Linked DNA regions of Homo sapiens: regions 2, 3 and 4 are each linked to region 1. The links are contacts of gene promoters, found by promoter capture Hi-C in human tissues and cell types (Jung and others, 2019). All regions are on one chromosome and are shown on one strand. Each heading gives the region's core, a stretch centred on a gene start or on the middle of the fragment in contact. The rest is flanking DNA. Distances are from core to core; before and after follow the strand shown. Region 1 holds the start of ZNF347 (zinc finger protein 347). Region 2 overlaps ZNF765-ZNF761 (ZNF765-ZNF761 readthrough). Region 3 has its middle 13 kb from the start of ZNF816-ZNF321P. Region 4 overlaps LOC124904758 (a long non-coding RNA gene).

Region 1 (3,051 bases), core at 293-2,792:
CTGGAAGGGCATTTCTCCAAAGGCTATGGAAATGTTATTTTCAGTTTATGGTATTGAGCAATATATTTCATGGTTTATGTTCAATTGTAGTAAAATTACTTTTTATTTTTTAATATGATTTTCCCTTTTATTTTTTTCTTTCATATATTGTAACCCAGATGAAACGTTTAATATTTTGTTAAAGTGAAAACTATACGGTGTATATAAATAAGGGTGTTGTTTGGAGATAAAATTGTGTGACATGAAAATGTACATAAGACAATAGCAGGTATAAACTAGGTTCTCTATAAACATGAAAAAAGGGTATCCCTGTGAGTCTTTAGTTCAGTCAATGTACTGGGATGGTACGTTAGAAATACTGGAAAACTATTCTTTAGGCGAAAATAAATCCAATTGTCATGTGGTGACTATTTTCCACACTCTGTTATCCACATCTGATAGAACATTAAGAAACAGAAAACAAAAAAATAGACCCAATATAGATTACAATTTTAAAATAAAAAGTACTGTGTCAAGTTCCCTTCAGAATGCCCATAAAGTGAATTTGAAATTACATGATATTTAGAAATTATTGATTTAAGCATATTTTGATGCAAAGAAAGATTATGTCAAAGTTGTTTGTGGTTAAGTCATTTCAAGTGTGGAACGGAATAACGAATATAAGCAAAAATAATGCAGTTTATCTCTATTTTTTAAAAATTCACATGGTTTAAATCAGTAGTTGACTGGGCACAGTAGTTCACTCCTGTAATCCCAGCAATTTTGGAGGCCCAGGCAGGAGGATTGCTTGAGGTCAAGAGTTGGAGACCAGCCTGGGCCGAGACTCCCATCTTTACAAAAATATATGTTTTAAAGAACAATAAAGCAGCCCTTGGTGATCTAACTTATCGGCCTTAACCTTCCCATGAATTGAGCACAGGCTTGACTCTTCCACTGGGGAGAATGGGGATTTGAAATGTAAAGGAGGTTCTGTTGGGCTACTGCATTAAATTGCATATCCGTCCAGGTAGGATGCTGCATTTCCCATTCTACTTTGAATCATCCTCAGAGATAATTTCCAGACATTTTAGTTAAATTAAATACATTTTAATTGCAGGAATTGCTGGATCCAATCGCCGTGCCTCGTGGATCCTCCACTAAGATCCCAGTTCCCAGACCGAGATCCCCGATTCCCAGATCCCCGTTCCTGAGCTGCAGCAGACTCCCTAGCAGGACTGGGTCCAACCCGCCGGCAAACAATTTTAACATAAACCGTTTTCAACTTGGTAAGAGGAAATCATTTTGGTTTCTATCATAAGTGGTCCACGTAAGTCTATTCTTTCACCTTAAAACTGCTTCAAATTGGAACGGTGCTCCCGGGGACATAGTGAACACTCCAGCGTTTCTAAACCGGGAAAAATGAGACTGCGGGCTAGGCAGGCTGAGGGAAGCGCAGACCCCGCCCCAGCTCCGCCCCAGCGTTTCGTCCGCAGACCCCGCCTCTCCCCAGGCCCCGCCCCCAGAGTGCCCGGGCTCTTTTCCGCGCACGCGCAGTTTTCTGCAGTTCCGGAAGCGGATCGTGTTGGGTGCGGGTGACGCCGCCGAGCGTGAGTGTCCCTCAGTATGGATTAAACTTGCGAACCGCCGTGCCCCGTTTCCGCAGCCAGTTCCCGGGCTCGCTACAGACCTTTTTTTTTTTCTTTTTTTTTTTTTTTGGTGAGACGGAGATTTACTCTTGTTGTCCAGGCTGGAGTGCAATGGCGCGATTTCGGCTCACCGCATCCTCCGCCTCCCAGGTTCAAGCGATTCTCCTGCCTCAGCCTCCCGAGTAGCTGGGATTACAGGCATGTGCCACCACGCCCGGCTAATTTTGTATTTTTAGTAGAGACGGGGTTTCACCGTGTTGCCCAGGCTGATCTCGAACTCCTGACCTCAGGTAATCCGCCCGCCTCGGCCTCCCAAAGTGCTGGGGTTACAAGCGTGAGCCACTGCGCCCGGCAGCTACAGACCTTAAGATCCCCGCACCGCGCCCTCCACCCCAGCTGACTCGCGGTGTGGGTTCGGAGTCGCTTCTCTTTGGGTTGAAGTAGCTCTGAGGCTTCTCCCTGTCCCCGGCCTTTCGCGTCTTCCTCCCGCTTAAAACCCTTTCCTGACCCCTCCTCCCGCCCCGGGCTTTTTAAAGTCCTCGCCCGCGAGGTGGATTCCCGCCCTGGGTGCCTCCCAGCCTCGCCCTCGTCGGCCCCTGGAGCGCAGCTCCTCAGCCCCGGTACCGGCGAGGCCGCGTCCTCTGCCTGGTCCTGGCATCCTGCAGACCCCACCCCTCTTCTAAGGCGCCGTCGCCCCGCCACCTCCCTCCTCCTCGTGCCGGGCCCTGCTGCTCCCCAGGCCTCCCCTTCGCAGTCCCCGCTTCTCCTGAGCCCGCGCTGGGGAGGTGCCCGGGGCCTGTCCTGTGACACCCGGTGTTCTTGCCTGCCCAGCTCCAGCCCCTGGAAAATGCGCTCCTCCAAGATGCAGGCGTCTTAGTCCAAACCTTCCTGTGAATGTGTGGACCAAGGGGATTAGCAGGTAGAGAAAGGGGCAGAGACAGAGAGAGAAGTAGAAAAACTGAGAGGAAAGAGTGAGGGAAACCCGTAACCAGATGGCAAAGTAGAGGATGGGCGAGGGATTTGCAGATGGTAAGAGAAGGAGCTGAGAAGGCAGAAGGAGAAAAGCAACTGGGGAAATGTAGAGAAAAGCTCGATGTCCAGAGACATGAAGGACAGCAAGGTAGGGAGAGGGCCAGAAAGTGGGAGGCTCCTCAGACAGAGTCCGGGAGAGGAGGAGGGATTTGGAGCCAGGGCAGACAAGCAGCGTGGTGCTGGGACAGCAAGAGGGGACAGCCGGTGACGAGGAGAGCAGAAGGAGAACCACAGCAGGGGGAGGCCTGGGATCTGGGGGTGCCAGAGAGTGGGGCAAGAGGTGTAGAAGGGAAGAGGAGATTCAACAGAGGGAGCAGAGATGGGAGAAGAAAGAGGCAGAAATATATGGAGACTGGGGACAATGAAAAGACTGGGGAGAAAGAGGAATCAGAGT
Region 2 (3,051 bases), core at 1-2,500, 250 kb before region 1:
AACCCAATGTGATTTAGATTCAACACGGTACCCATAAAAATCCTTATCACTGGGGCTGGGCGCAGTGGCTCACGCCTGTAATCCCAGCACTTTGGGAGGCCGAGGTGGGTGGATCATCTGAGGCTGGGAGTTCAAGACCAGCCTAACCAACATGGAGAAACCCCATCTCTACTAAAAATACAAAATTAGCTGGGCGTGGTGGCTCATGCCTGTAATCCTAGCTACTCTGGAGGCTGAGGCAGGAGAATTGCTTGAACCTGGGAGGCGGAGGTTGTAGTGAGCTGGGATCGCTCCATTGCAGTCCAGCCTGGGCAACAAGAGTGAAACTCCATCTCAAAAAAAAAAAAAAAAATCCCTATCAGTTTTTGTTAAAGAAACAAAAAACAGGCTGGGAAAATGGCTCACGTCTGTTGGCCAGGCTGACCTCAAACTCCTGAACTCAAGTGATCTACCGGTGCTGGCCTCCCAAAGCGCTCAGATTACAGGTGTGAGCCACTGTGCCTGGCCCAGTCCTCTTAACATAAACACTTTAATGTCAATTAAGGCTTCAACTCAATGTTAAGTCAAACTCAAGTCAATGCTGAACTGACTCTAGTGTCAATTAATGCTTGATGGTTTGCTATACACATTGTATTTGGAACAACTATCTCCAAAATGAATTTTCTGATATCCTGCAAGGAGTGAGCTCAGACTGAAGACTTTGGCACACTGATGACATTTATAAGATTTCTGTCCAGTATGCATTCTCTGATGTCTAGTGAGGTGTGAATGTGAATTAAAGGCTTTGCCGCAATCATCACACTTGTGAGGTTTCTCTCCTGTATGAATTCTCCTATGTTTTGCATAGAATGAAGCTTGACTGAGACCTTGTCACAATCATGACATTTGTAAGGTTTCTCTCCAGTACGAGTTCGCCGATGAACTGCAAGTTATGAACAATGTCTGAAAAATTTGCCAAATTTATTAAACTAGTATGATCTCTCTTCATTATGGATTCTCCAATGATTCGCAATGGTTGTAGTGTAACTGAAGACTTTGTGACAATCATTACATAAGTAAAGTTTCCCTACACCATGGATTGCCTGATGGTAAACAAGTGTTGACTGCCCACTAAAGACCTGTCACATTCATTATACTTGTAAGCTTTCTCTCCAATGTGAATTCTAGGATGTTGTGCCAGGTGCGAATTATGCCTGAAAGCCTTGTCACAAACTCTTACATTTTTATGCTATCTCTCCAGTAGGAATTCTCCTGTGTCTTTCAAGGTTTGAGTGTGACTGAAAACTTGGTGACATTCTTCACATATGTAAGCTTTCTCTCCAGTATGAATTCTCCTGTCTTTGGAGGCTTGATTTGCGACTGTAAACTTTGTCACATGCTTCACATTTGTAACGTTTATCTCCAGTATGAATTCTATGATGATGTGCAAGCTTTGCTTTTTGATTTAAAACCTTGCCACGTTCATTACACTGCTAAGGTTTCTCTCTAGTATGAATTCTATGACTATCAAGGTTTGATTTGAATCTGAAAGCTTCATCACATTCTTCACATTTGTAAGGTTTCTAATACGACTTCACCCATGAACTGCAAAGGTATGAAGGATGTCTGAAAAATTTTCTGCATTTATTCTGCATTTATCACACTTGTAGGATCTCTCTTCATTATGGATTCTCCAATGATTTGCAATAGTTGTAGCATTACTCAAGACTTGGTGACAATCATTACATTTGTAAAATGCTGACTGCCCATGAAAGGTTTTTCTACACTCATTATCCTTGTAAGGTACCTCTCCAGTATGAAGTCTACGATGGTGCGTAAGGTATGACTTCAGACTAAAGGTCTTGCCACACTCACTACACTTTTAAGGTATCTCTCCAGTATGAAGTCTATGATGGCATGTAAGGTATGAGTTCTGACTAAAGGTCTTGCCACACTCATTACATTTGTAAGGTATCCTCCAGTATGAAGTCTACGATGGCGTGTAAGGTATGAGTTCTGACTAAAGGTCTTGCCACACTCATTACACTTGTATGGTTTCTCTCCAGTATGAATTCTCCTTTGTCTTTCAAGGTTTGATTTGAAATGGAAAACTCAAATTCTTCACATTTGTAAGGTTTCTCTCCAGTACGAAGTCTACAATGGCATGTAAGGGATGAGGTCTGGCTGAAGGTCTTGCCACACTCATTACACCTGTAAGGTTTCTCACCAGTGTGAATTCTCCTATGTCTTTCAAGGTTGGATTTGAAACAGAAAGCTTCTTCACATTCTTCACATTTGTAAGGTCTCTCCACTATGAAGTTTATGATGGTACACAAAAGATGACGTATGACTCAAGGTCTTGCCACACTCATTACACTTGTAAGATTCTCTTCAGTACGAATTTTCTGATGTATTTCAAGGTTTGATTTGAAATTGTAAGCTTTGTCAAGTTCTTCATATTTGTAAGGTTTCTCTCCACTATGAAGCCTACGATGGCATGTAAGGGTTAACTCCTGATTGAAGGTCTTACCACACTCATTACACGTGTAGTTTCTCTCCAGTATAAATTCTCCTATGTCTTTCAAGGTTTGATTTGAAACTGAAAGCTTCATCACAATCTTCACATTTGTAAGGTTTCTGTCCAGTATGAAGTCTATGATGGTATGTAAGGGATGACGTCCGGCTGAAGGTCTTGCCACACTCATTACACTTGTAAGGATTCTCTTCAGTATGAATTTTCTGATGTATTTCAAGGTTTGATTTGAAACTGTAGGCTTTGTCACATTCTTCACATTTGTAAGGTTTCTCTCCACTATGAAGTCTACAAATGTTAAGGGTTAACTGCTGATTGAAGGTCTTGCCACACTCATTACACTTGTAAGGTTTCTCTTCAGTATGAAGTCTACGATGGTATGTAAGAGATGACTTGTGACTAAAGGTCTTGCTACACTCATTACACTTGTAAGGTTTCTCTCCAGTATGAACTCTATGATGGCATGTAAAATGTGACTTCCGACTAAAGGTCTTGCCACACTCATTACACTTGTAAGGTTTCTCTCCAGTATGAAGCCT
Region 3 (3,051 bases), core at 290-2,789, 180 kb after region 1:
GACCCAAGGATTTGAGTCTGGGAATATTTAAGCCAATGTCATTGCCAAGTCAGAAGTCTTAGACCCCAGGAATTTTTCTTCATTGAGAGTCCGGGCAGCAAGGAAGCCTCTCCTCTTTCTGCGGAGTTTAGGGTCTTTAATTGCCAATGTAAGTTTGCTCAGGGTCAGGCAGTGACCCGTTGGATCAGCCAGATGTGTTTCTGAGTGAACATACACTTGTCCTTCTTACCGGTTGGGCAAGCAGAGTGGTCTGCATGAGGGACTCTGGGCTGTCCCGCTCAGCTGCTCCTGCTCAGCTCCCTCATCACGATGAAGACCATTCCAAGGTCAAATAGGACCCTGGCACACATGAGACCCCAGAGAAGACATACTAGTATCACTCAGTCATTCTCATTCATTCACTGACTCAGTAGCTATGGAGCCTGTGCTATAAGCCAGGGGGCACAAATAGAGGAGCTGTCTGTACCAGGGATCAAAATGGTAAACCAGCAGACTATCCTTCCCTGCTTTCTCCAGGTTATTTTTCAGTTTTATGCTGTGTTGTTGAAGTTGGTCTTGATCTCCTGGGCTCAAGAGGTCCTCTTTGGCCTCCTGAGTAGCTGGGATTATAGGCCCCAACCCCCATACCTAATTATTGGTTTTTATTTTTTAAATTTTAGCGTATGTGTGTCCTTAGGGCTAATATGAGTCTTCTGTGGACAACATGTAGTTGGTTCCTGTTGATTCAGCCAGTCTTTGCCTCCTGAATGCAGAGTTAAATATTTACATTTTAATAATTACTGATGGAGAAGACCTTACCGTTGCGTTTTTGTTACATATTATCTGTATTTCTTGTAGGTTTTTATTGTTGTTCTTCATTTCTCATTTCCTACTTTTTGTGTTTAATTACTTTTTTTCTGTAGACATGCTTTGACTCTCTTCTTATTTACTTTTTTTTGTGGTGAAGTCTCACTCTGTCACTCGGGCTACAGTGCAGTGGTGCGATCTTTCTAACCGTAGCCTCCACCTCCCGGGCTCAAACGATTCTTGTGTCCCAGCTTCTGAGTAGCTGTGACTACAGGCGCTCACCACCACGCCCAGCTAATTTTTGTGTTTTTAGTAGAGACGGGGTTTCATCACATTAGCCAGGATGTTCTCGAACTCCTGATCTCAAGTGATCCACCTGTCTCGGTTTCCCAAAGTACTGGCATTACAGGCGTGAGCCACCGTGCCCAGCCATTATTATTATTTTAAATAGTTTTGTCTTTTAGTTTTTAGTAAACATATAAGTGGCTTAAGCATGATTCCAATGTGAACATAACAACCACGTTAGTGTCCATTCCTTTCAATATGAAGAACCGAAGTGTGTTGTATAGATATTTAGGGGGAGGTTATTGTTGAAGGTGTGTTAAACATCTTGAAGTTATAGCATAATAACAAAACTTGAAATTTCCATTACCTGGCCAGGTGCAGTGGCTCACCCCTGTAATCTCAGCACATTGGGAGGCCAAGGTGGGCAAATCACCTGAAGTCAGGAGTTCAACACCAGCCTGGCTAACATGGCAAAACTCTGTCTCTACTGAAAATTCGAAGTGCAGTGGGCACCTGTAATCCCAGCTACTCAAGAGGCTGAAATCTTTGAATTCAAGAGGCAAAGATTGCAGGAGCCGAAACGGCACCATTACACTCCAGCCTGGGCGACAGAGCAAGACTCCGTCTCAAAAAAACAAAGAAAGAAACAAACAAAAATTTCCATAACCTGCAAAGACTACTTTCTCCACTAGAACTCTTTGTTATTTATGTCAGAATTATTTCTGTATATGTTGCATTTTCATTAACATATATGTACAGTGTTTTTTTTGTGCTTTTTTCTGCTAAATAATTGGAAAAAAAAGTTGAGTTATAAAGAAAAGATACACTTATACAGGTTTCTGTATCTGTCTATTTACTTACTTATTTATTTATTTATTTATTTATTTATTTCTGAGACAAAGTTTTGCTCCTGTCGCCCAGGCTGAAGTGCAATGACACAATCTCAGCTCACTGCAACCTCCGCCTCCCAGTTTCAAGTGATTCTTTTGCCACAGCCCCCCGAGTAGCTGGGATTACAGGCATGCACCATCATGCCCGGCTAATTTTGTATTTTTAGTAGAAACAAGGTTTCTCCTTGTTGGTCAAGCTGGTCTCGAACTCCCAAACTCAGGTGATCCACCTGCCTTGGCCTGCCAAAGTGCTGAGATTACGGGTGTGAACCAACTTTGATGGATGCGCGGCAACATAAGCTTATGTACAAGGCATTTGAGATTGAGGAATGGAAAATTACTGAGGCACTGTGTGTATGTTGTTTGTGTATGAGACTGTCACTCCTTGACCCTGAAATCAGGACAAGGAGTAGAATGTGTGATAAGAAACGCTGAAACAGTCTCCTGTGAATGTGGTCTGAGTGCTTTTACAAGGCCATAGTGCCTCACGACCCGACTGCAAAGAGCTCCATGGTGTATGTTTTTTGTTTGTCTGAAGTGTAGTTTAAACAAGCCCTTTTTTTTTTTTTTTTTTTTTTGAGACGGAGTCTCGCTCTGTCGCCCAGGCTGGAGTGCAGTGGTGCGATCTCGGCTCACTGCAAGCTCTGCCTCCCGGGTTCACACCATTCTCCTGCCTCAGCCTCCTGAGTAGCTGTGACTTCAGGCGCCCGCCACCACGCCCGGCTAATTTTTTTGTATTTTTAGTAGAGACGGGGTCTCACTGTGTTATCCAGGATGGTCTCGATCTCCTGACCTCGTGATCCGCCCGCCTCGGCCTCCCAAAGTGCTGGGATTACAGGCGTGAGCCACCGCGACCGGTCTAAACAAGCCCTTTCAATAAATACTTGGAGGACGGATTCTGGGGCAGCACTCTCTCAGAAGGTTTGCTCCCCGCCCCACTCAGCTGGAATTATCTGAGTACTTCATTCTTGGCGTTCACTGCAAGCTATAAGCTGCACCACTGCACTTGGCCTATCTGTCCTTTTATTTACCTTCACTGGAGAACTTTATATATATTTGTGGGTTGGAGTTACTCTTTAGCCTTCTTTCA
Region 4 (3,051 bases), core at 299-2,798, 150 kb after region 1:
ATCTCCAGCCAGGGATGTGTGTTTCAGTATCATTTTGAGCAGAAGGCTCTTCTAGGGTGGGTTATTGCAGAAGTACACATGGTTGTTAATGGGGAAAATCCCCCATCTCGATTATGTCCAGCTAGCCCCTGATAAGTCCCCTTCTGGGCCAGAGGAGTGCAGCCACAAGGCCAGGTGGAGGCAATGTAGCCACTGATCTTTTCTTGCTGTCAGTGGGCAGCATCTTTAAGGAGACTCTCAGTGAGTTGCATTTCTTTTTTCTTTTTTCTTTTCTTTTTTTTTTTTTTTTGAGACAGAGTCTCGCTCTGTCACCCAGGCTGGAGTGCAGTGGCCCGATCTCGGCTCATTGCAAGCTCCGCCTCCCGGGTTCACGCCATTCTCCTGCCTCAGCCTCCTGAGTAGCTGGGACTACATGCGCCCACCACCAGGCCAGCTAAGTTTTTGTATTTTTAGTAGAGATGGAGTTTCACTGTGTTAGCCAGGATGGTCTTGATCTCCTGACCTCGTGATCCACCTGTCTCGGCCTCCCAAAGTGCTGGGATTACAGGCATGAGCCACTGTGCCTGGCCAGTGAGTTGCATTTCTAAATATTCCTTTCCAAAGTGTCAGAGACATTTGAACCAGAGCAATTCCATCTGGAATAGGGGCTGGAGAAAATAAGCCTGAGACCTGCTGGGTTACATTCCCAGTAAGTGAAGGCATTCTTAGTCATAGGATGAAACAGGAGGCTGCTCTGACTATGGAGTAGCCATACTTTATTCCTTTACTCTCTTAATAAACTTGCTTTCACTTTACTGTATGGATTCACCTTGAATTCTTCCTTGCGTGAGATCCAAGAACCCTCTCTTAGGTTCTGGATCAGGACCCCTTGCGGGTGACACAGAATCTCCTTACCTGCTCATGCCTCGCTATCTGCCTCCTGCAATACTTTCACCTGGTTTGTGGATAGAAAAACTTAATTACACCGAGTTCATCCACTTCTGTATGTTCTCTCTGTATAACCAATCTGAATGTAAATTCACCTTAAGCTTTTTCCCCCAGGTCACAGAAAAAAACAGAATTTTCACCTTCGTTGAGTTTATTCTCATCAACTTATTTCTCTGATAGAGAGAAAACTTCTATTAAGTGTCTTCATCAGGGCTCCACTGGTATAAAAAGGGATGTCAAGAAAATTTAGATGAATTTGAGATGTGACATGAATCTGACATATAAATTAGTGCTAGTATTTTCTTTTCTTTTTTCTTTTTTTTTGGGGGGGCGGTGGGGAGGGAGTCTCACTCTGTCACCCAGGCTGGAGTGTAGTGGTGCAATCTCGGCACACCGTAACCTCTGCCTCCCAGGTTCAAGGGATTCTCCTGCCTTAGCCTCCCAAGTAGCTGGGATTATGGGCGCCCGCCAGCATGCCCAGATAATTTTTTTTTTAATTTTTAGTAGAGATGGGTTTCACCATGTTGGCCAGGCTGGTCTCAAACTCCGGACCTCAGGTGATTTACCCACCTCAGCCTCCCAAAGTGCTCCCAAAGGTGTGAGCCACCATGCCCGGCCTCTTTTTTCCGCTTTCGTTGCCCAAGCTGGCATGCAGTGGCGCCATCTCGGCTCACTGCAACCTCCACCTCCTGGGTTCAAGCGATTCTTCTGCCTCAACCTCCCGAGTAACTGGGATTACAGGCATGCACCACTGTGCTTGGCTAATTTTGTATTTTTAGTAGAGATGGGGTTTCTCCATGTTGGTCAGGCTGGTCTCAAACTCCCCACCTCAGGTGATCCACCCGCCTTAGCCTCCCAAAGTGCTGGGATTACAGGCGTAAGCCACTGCACCCGACCTAAGTGCTTGTATTTTCTTTCTTTCTTTTTTTTTTTCCCACATTTAGTTCTTTTATTTAATTTTCTAGTGGACAATTTACATATCTCCCTCACCCTGTCTTTTAAGTTAGTGTGACAATTTTCCATAATAAACTACTTAAAGGGAAGCTTTGGTCAAGAATGGAATGAAATCGCAAAAAAAATAAAAAAATAAAAAAAAAAATACTGCTTTAAAAAAACCAGCATTTTCACCAATTTTATATTCAAACAAAACCACACAGCATTGGCCTGCTATGTGTTTTCAGTGTTTCCTTGGGTCTAGCTTCCTCGCCATCGTGCCACGGCACAGCTGCGGTTGGCCACAGTTTGTCATGCTAGATGGCGAAGGCTCACTCAGCTTCACATTATGTGGAGGACCTGGATGGAAGACTCGAGGGTCTTGAAATCCCAAATTGTCATGGCTCCATCAATGCCAGTAGTGCAAAATTTGCGACAACCTTGCTTGTCTACCTCATAAATAGAGACGTGAGTGATGCTATTCTGGTGCAGCCTCTCCAAGGCCATGTTGTGGTCCTCAATCGTGGCCCTCGTGTCCATGTTGCGGAAGTGTTCTATGGCAGACATGTTGCGTTGGATGCTCTGTTTTGGAATGTCTAACTTGGAGACGAAGGTCAGGCAGCCGCGGTCATCATAATTAAAGAGCATTGGGTAGCAGTCATGGCCAGCAGCCACGACACTGTTCTCTGAGACAAATGACACACTCAGGAGTGGTAGGAACTCTGTCTTCAGAATTGAGACCTGCACACTTTTTGAGGCATCAGCAACAGATAACGGTGCTGTCGTGGCTGACCCAGGCCAGGCGGCTCCCACTGGCAGAGAAGCTTACCCCGTGGACCCAGCCACCGGTGCCACTGCCACCAAACTCTGACATCAGCTGCCCAAAAGGCATCTTGGTGCCCCAGGGCATGCTGGCTGGCTTTTCATCCACTTCTTTAATGTAAGCAGAAAACACTCTGCATTTGAAGTCACATGATCCTGCTGCCAGCAAAACATTGTTGGGATGCCAATCCAAGCTGAGGACTGTGGAGCGAATCGGCTTTTTAATATGCTTGCTTACCCACCAGTCATTTTCAGACTCAAAGTAACAAACAAATGAGTCATGCTCCACTTCCCACAGCAAATTTGTTCTCTAGCGGGGACCACTTCACAAAAGTAGCTGCACGATTAATTCTAAGGATCACCAGGGTT

The links. Contacts are between HindIII fragments. The study calls those that stand out against the background at their distance.
Region 2: a contact is called between a fragment that was not itself captured here and the fragment with the promoter of ZNF347 in region 1, in 7 of the 25 tissues and cell types used here (aorta, bladder, dorsolateral prefrontal cortex and 4 more).
Region 3: a contact is called between a fragment that was not itself captured here and the fragment with the promoter of ZNF347 in region 1, in 1 of the 25 tissues and cell types used here (adrenal gland).
Region 4: a contact is called between a fragment that was not itself captured here and the fragment with the promoter of ZNF347 in region 1, in 1 of the 25 tissues and cell types used here (pancreas).

Annotation. Positions count from the first base shown.
Region 1 is chr19:53,157,544-53,160,594 of GRCh38, reverse strand. ZNF347 (zinc finger protein 347) reads left to right here and starts at 1,542. Exons shown (of 5, transcript NM_032584.3): 1 at 1,542-1,586. RefSeq lists a silencer at 1,360-1,609 and an enhancer at 1,345-1,639. The HindIII fragment of the contact is 7,458 bases long and covers 1-3,051 here.
Region 2 is chr19:53,408,594-53,411,644 of GRCh38, reverse strand. All of the region lies in intron 3 of ZNF765-ZNF761 (ZNF765-ZNF761 readthrough), which reads right to left. It overlaps ZNF765 (zinc finger protein 765), which reads right to left. Exons shown (of 4, transcript NM_001040185.3): 4 at 1-3,051. The coding sequence ends at 2,518. It also overlaps the pseudogene LOC124904793. Among named protein-coding and RNA genes, the nearest start is that of ZNF765-ZNF761, 15 kb to the right of the region's middle. The HindIII fragment of the contact is 3,821 bases long and covers 1-3,051 here.
Region 3 is chr19:52,974,196-52,977,246 of GRCh38, reverse strand. It overlaps the pseudogene ZNF702P. Among named protein-coding and RNA genes, the nearest start is that of ZNF816-ZNF321P, 13 kb to the right of the region's middle. The HindIII fragment of the contact is 7,849 bases long and covers 1-3,051 here.
Region 4 is chr19:53,004,303-53,007,353 of GRCh38, reverse strand. It overlaps LOC124904758 (a long non-coding RNA gene), which reads left to right. Exons shown (of 2, transcript XR_007067327.1): 2 at 1-794. It also overlaps the pseudogene ARPC1AP2. Among named protein-coding and RNA genes, the nearest start is that of ERVV-1, 8.1 kb to the left of the region's middle. The HindIII fragment of the contact is 4,230 bases long and covers 1-3,051 here.